Regions from separate parts of the Homo sapiens genome. Here region 1 is linked to region 2. Evidence: promoter capture Hi-C in human tissues and cell types (Jung and others, 2019). All regions are on one chromosome and are shown on one strand. The core of a region is centred on a gene start or on the middle of the fragment in contact, and the rest is flanking DNA. Distances in the headings are between cores, read along the strand shown. Region 1 overlaps ZNF813 (zinc finger protein 813). Region 2 holds the start of ZNF665 (zinc finger protein 665).

Region 1 (3,264 bases), core at 554-3,053, 300 kb before region 2:
ATTACCAGTTTTGATCTGAATCCACTGGGGGAATGGAATGATTTTGCTTTTGTTTCTTGGCCAGGTATTGCTTAAATCTGAAAGTCCTGTGAGATCTGGCGAGAAGGGGAGTCAAGTACACACCACGAGAGGAGACAGGAAGAGAAGGGGCTTGACATATTTTATTTTTTATTTATTTATTTTTTTTTGAGACAAAGTTTTGCTCTTATTGCCCCCATCTTGGCTCACTGCAACCTCCGCCCCCCAGGTTAAAGCGATAATGCAGCCTCAGCCTCCTGAGTAACTGGGATTACAAGCACCCGCCACCACACCCAGCTAATTTTTGTATTTTTAGTAGAGACGGGGTTTCACCATGTTAATCAGCCTGTTCTCAAACTCCTGACTATTGTTTCTGCTGTTACCTGTCAGTCCTCTTCATTGTGGCACAAACAAGATAAATTTTTTTGTAAAACTGATGTGCAAGGGGCATGGTGGCTCATGCCTGTAATCTCCACACTTTGGGAGGCTGAGGTGGGCAGATCGTGAGGTCAGGAGTTCAAGACCAGCCTTGCCAACATGGTGAAACCCCGTCTTACTAAAAATACAAAAATTAGCTGATGTGGTGGCACGCGCCTGTAGTCCCAGCTACTAAGGAGGCAGAGACAGGAGAATCACTTGAACCCGGGAGGCAGAGGTTGCAGTGAGCCGAGATTGCACCACTGCATTCCAGCCTGGGAGACAGAGCGAGACACCATCTCAAAAAAACAACAACAACAAAAACAAACAAAAAAACTGATGTGGATGGTGTGCCTGCCACTCCATGCATCACCTTCAACATTGTCTTGTCCCAACTCAAACTAAGTTATCCATTTACAAACTGTTTATTTCTTCTGGGCATCATCTCCATAATCTTTTCATAAAGCATCAATGATTTCATTATTCCTCTACCCAAACTTTACAAGAAGTATTTTTTTTTTTGAGCCAGTATCTCGCTCCATCACCCATGCTGGAATGCAGTGGCATGATCATAGCTCACTGCAGCCTCAACCTCCCAGGCTCGAGCTATCCTCCTACCACAGACTCCACAGCAGCTGGCCCTGCATGCATGTGCTACCGTGCCCAGCTAATTTTTGTATTTTTTGTAGACAAGGGGGTTTCACCATGTTGCCCAGGCTTGTCTTGAATACCTGGGCTTACATGACCCACCTGTCTTGGCCTCTGAAAGTGCTGGGATTACAGGCCTGAGCCACTGCATCTGGTCTCACTGTAAATTTGATGCTCCTTTTTGTTTCAATTTTAGCAGGATTTATATTGCTTTGATAGAGTCTCTTTTCTTTTCTTTTCTTTTTTTTTTTTTTGAGACAGAGTTTCGCTCTTGTTGACCAGGCTGGAGTGCAATGGTGCAATCTCGGCTCACAGCAATCTCTGCCTCCCGGGTTCAAGCCATTCTCCTGCCTCAGCCTCCAGAGTATCTGGGATTACAGGCATTTGCCACCATGCCTGGCTAATTTTGTATTTTTAGTAGAGATGCTGTTTCTCCATGTTGGTGAGGCTGGTCTCGAACTCTGGATCTCAGGTGATCCACCCACCTTGGCCTCCCAAAGTGTTGGGATTACAGGCATGAGCCACTGCGCCCGGCAGAGAAAGTCTCTTTTAAAACTCATGTCTTATCCTTCTGGGTGCCTCAAACTAGGACCTGTTCAGACATAACAGATTCGTACCAGTTTATTTTGGTGCAAAAACTGGGAAATTCATACACAATTTTCTCATAATATGCAAAATATGTATTTTTCCATGAACTTCTTGAAGACCCCTTGTACTAAAAAGCTGTATTCAAGAGGATGTAAAAAGGACTGTAGATACTCAAGTGCCACTTATTTCTGGGATGCAAGGATGGTTCAACATAGTCAAGCAAATCAATGTGATATGCCACTTGAACAGAATGAAAGATGAAAACCACATCATCTCAATAGATGGAGAAAAAGTATTTCACAAAATTCAAAATCCACTCATCATAGAAATTCTGAACAAAATAGACAGAAAAGGAAATTTACCTCAACAATAGAAAGGCCATCCATGAAATGACCAACGAGTAGATAACGAAGCAGGGAACATGGAATGATTTTCCTGTAGGATCTCACATGATGGAAGAATGCTCTCACCCCTTCTATTCAATAAATACTGGCTGTCCTAGCCAGAGCAATGAAATAGCAAAAGAAATCAAACCCATCCAAATCAGAAAGAAAGAAGTAAAATTATATGTGTTTGTAGATGACATGATCTTCTGTGTAGAAAATCACAAAGACTCAACCAAAATACTACTGGAAGTAATAAACAGATTCAGTGTATCTGCACAGTACAATATCAGCACCAAAAATTAGCTGAATTTCCATACATTAACAATAAACAATTTTAAAAGAAAATTTAAAAACACTTCCATTTGCTAGAGAACTTAAAGTAAGAAATACTTAGGAATAAAAGCAAAAAGATGAGAAGTTTGTAACAATAAACAATTTTAAAAGAAAATTTAAAAACACTTCCATTTGCTAGAGAACTTAAAGAAATAGAAATAAAAGTAAAAAGGTGAGAAGTTTGTACCTTGAAATCTACAAATATACATCAATATGATTAAAAACATATACAGACATATAACCCATATTGATGGATTGGAAAAATTAATATTGTTAAATGATTATATAACCCAATGTGATTTAGATTCAACACGGTACCCATAAAAATCCCTATCAGTTTTTGTTAAAGAACAAAAAGCAAACTGGGAAAAGTGGCTCATGTTTGTTGGCCAGACTGATCTGAAACTCCTGACCTCAAGTGATCTACCCGCCTTGGCCTCCCAAAGTGCTGGGATTACAGGTGTGAGACACTGTACCTGGCCCAATCCTCTTAACATAAACACTTTAATGTCAATTACTGCTTGATGGTTTGCTCTACTCATTGCATTTGGAACAATTATCTCAAAATGAATTTTCTGATATTCTGCAAGGAGTGAAGTCAGACTGAAAACCTTGCCACACTGATGACATTTGTAAGATTTCCGTCCAGTGTGCATTCTCTGATGTCTAAGGAGGTGTGAACGTGAAGTAAAGGCTTTGCCACAATCATCACACGTGAGGTTTCTCTCCTGTATGAATTCTCCTATGTTTTGCATAGGATGAAGCTTGACTGAAGACCTTGCCTCAATCATGACATTTATAAGGTTTGTCTCCAGTATGAGTTCGCCAATGAACTGCAAGGTATGGACGATGTCTGAAAAATTTGCCGATTATT
Region 2 (3,050 bases), core at 438-2,937:
GCCCAGGCTGGAGTGCAGGGGCGCCATCTCGGCTCACTGCAAGCTCCGCCTCCCGGGTTCACGCCATTCTCCTGCCTCAGCCTCCCGAGTAGAGTAGCTGGGACTACAGGCGCCCGCCACCACGCCCGGCTAATTTTTTTGTATTATCATTAGAGACGGGGTTTCACCGTGTTAGCCAGGATGGTCTCCTGGTGACCATCGTGATCCGCCCGGCTCGTGATCCGGTCCTGACCTCGTGATCCGCCCAGCTCGGCCTCCCAAAGTGCTGGGATTACAGGCGTGAGCCACAGCGCCCGGCCGACACAGTTGTTTCCTAGTAAGATAGGAAAAGATCTTTTTCTCATGGGCTATTATGTTGTTATTTGAGTTAATACAGGTAAAGTATTCCGAATAATGCCTTGCACATAGTGTTCAGAAAAGTCAGTCATTGCTATTGCCATTATCATCACAGTTTTTACTTCTGGCCAGTGTTTCTGTAAAGCCACTGTGGACCTTGTCACCTCAGAAGACATCATTCGTGCTTTAGCTTATCTAGATACGGAGTATCACTTAGTGTGTTGAAAATAATATCTAACACTTCTATAGAGATCAGCTTGTGTTTGGGTTTTTATTTGTCTATTTATTGTATTGTCCACAAAACTGAAAACTCCACACAGATTTAGAGGCTATTATAACTACTTAGGGAAAAGTACAATAAAACAGAATTAGGGAGACATAACTTGCTCAAAAATGCCTTCACGCTGGGGCGGTGGCTCAGTGAGCCGAGATCATGCCATTGCATTCCAGCCTGGGCGACAAGAGCAAGACTCTTGTCTAAAAAAAAAAAAAAAAAAAAAAAAACAACAACAAACCTCACATATTCGTATTTAAGAATATAGGAAACACTGATTCAGTTTCTTCTACTGTTCTCTCACAACACAGAATGCTACAGTTAGCCCAGAGGTACTGGGTTTTCCCACACACACCAAGCAAGCAATCCTGCCACAGACACCAGGTGCGTGTTCTCTCATTCCGTTCCATTTTGCCGGGACATGGCATCAGATCCCACACGTTGAGGGCTCAGTCCCACAATAGTGCACACATTTCAATGCCAGTCTCAAGCAGAGGTTGTGACTTGTGCTTACAGATCAGATATAAATCCAGGAGTCCCTTGACCCCCTCCTCAGGTTCAACGAATTTGCTAGAGTGGCTCACAAAATACAGGGAAACACTTTACATAGATTTACGTATTATAAAGGATATTACAAAGTTGACAGAAGAACAGCCAGATGGAAGGGATCAGTGAGGTGAGGCATGGGAGAAGGGGCGTTGAGCCTTGGTGCCCTCCCTGGGTGCACCACGCTGCAGGAGCCTCCCAGTGTTCACCTATCCAGAAGCTCCGCTGAATCCTCTCCTTTTGGGTTGTTATGGCGCCTTCATTACATATGCATGATTGCTTATATTACTGGCCATTGGTTAAACTTTTAGATAGCCTAAGTTTTGTTTTTTTTTTTTTTTGGGAGAGACGAAGTCTCACTCTGTCACCCAGGCTGGAGTGCAATGGCGCGATATCGGCTCATTGCAACCTCCGCCTCCAGGGTTCAGGCCCCGCCCCGGCCCCGCCCACCCTATGCTCTCAGTCCCTCCCAACGCCTGGCCTTTCCCCACCGCAACCCGCCCCTTTGCCTACTGCGCGGGCAGTTTCTTGCAAACCCGGAAGCAGATCTCTTGGAGTGAAGGCTGTTAGTCGCCGCGTGAGTTTCCCTCTATCTAGATTAAACCTGCGTTTCGGAGTCCCCTGCTCCTCCGTACCCGATGTCCGGGGGTTCGTATAGCCCTTAAAGTCCCCGCACGGCTCCCTCCATTCCATGTAAATTCAGACTTTGCCGCGAGACTCTGGGGGTCGCATCGCTTTGGGTTAAAATCACACAGGCTGGTCCTGCCCGCGGTCTTTCGGCCTTCAGACCATGCAGACACCTCCTTTCCTGCGCCGTTTCCTGCTTAAAACCCTTTACTGACCTGCGCCCTGTGAAGTCCTCATCTGCGAAGTGGGTGCAGGATTTTACCGTCCCCTAACCTCGCCCTAGTCAGCTACTGGAGCGTTAGCGCCGCAGCCCCAGTCCCGGGGAGGCCGCGCCTCTGCCTGGTCCTGGGATCCTGCATACCCCACCCCTCTCCTAAGGCGCCGTCGCCCCCCACCTCCCTCCTCCTCGTGCCGGGCCCTGCTGCTCCCTAGGCCTCCCCTTCGCAGTCACCGTTTCCCCTGAGCCCGCGTTGGGGAGGTGCCCGGGCCTTGTCCTGTGATACCCGGTGTTCTTGCCTGCCCAGCTCCACCCGCTGGAAAATGTGCTCCTCCAGGATCCAGGTGTCTTACTCCAAACCCTCCCTGTGAATGTGTGGGCCAAGGGGATCAGGAGACAGAGAGGGGGGCTGAGAGAAAAGTAGAAAAACGGAGACAGAGGAAAGAATGAGGGAAACCAGTAAACATGGCAAAGTAGAGGATGGGTCAGGATTTACAAAGAGACAGTAAGGGTGAAAGAAGTCGCTGAGAAAGTAACAGGATGGAGAAACAACTGGAGAAATGTAGAGAAAAGCTCGCTGTCTAGAGAGATGAAGGACAGCAAGGTAGGGAGAGGGGCAGCTCCTCAGACGGAGAGTTAGGGAGAGGAGGGGGTATTTGGAGCCAGGATAGACAGAGCAGCGTGGTGCTGGGACAGCAAGAAGGGGCAGCTGGTGACAAGGAGAGCAGAGGGAGAACCACAGCAGGGGGAGACCTGGGATCTGGGGGTGCCAAAGAGTGGGGACAAGGAAGTGAAACAGGGAAGAGGGGATTTAACAGGGAGAGCAGAGATAAGGGAAGAAAGAGGCAGAAATAGATGGAGATTGGGGACAACCAAAAGACGGGTGAAAGAGGAATAAGAGGTGAAACAAGTTGCAAGAATGGAACAGAACAAGTGGAAGAGAAGGATAGAGGGAAGGAGAAACAGCAGGAGAAGAGAGGGGCTCAAAATGAGGAGCAGAGACCCAGGCTGAAACACAGAAAAGAAACAAGGAGAGAGAAGAAGAGAATG

What was found. Contacts are between HindIII fragments. The study calls those that stand out against the background at their distance.
Region 1: a fragment that was not itself captured here is called in contact with the fragment with the promoter of ZNF665 in region 2 in 1 of the 25 tissues and cell types used here (spleen).

The regions. Positions count from the first base shown.
Region 1 is chr19:53,492,717-53,495,980 of GRCh38, reverse strand. It overlaps ZNF813 (zinc finger protein 813), which reads right to left. Exons shown (of 4, transcript NM_001004301.4): 4 at 1-3,264. It also overlaps the pseudogene RPL39P37. Among named protein-coding and RNA genes, the nearest start is that of ZNF813, 27 kb to the right of the region's middle. RefSeq lists an enhancer at 2,699-3,264. The HindIII fragment of the contact is 8,734 bases long and covers 1-3,264 here.
Region 2 is chr19:53,191,995-53,195,044 of GRCh38, reverse strand. It overlaps ZNF665 (zinc finger protein 665), which reads left to right and starts at 1,687. Exons shown (of 4, transcript NM_024733.5): 1 at 1,687-1,733. RefSeq lists an enhancer at 1,722-1,871. The HindIII fragment of the contact is 23,654 bases long and covers 1-3,050 here.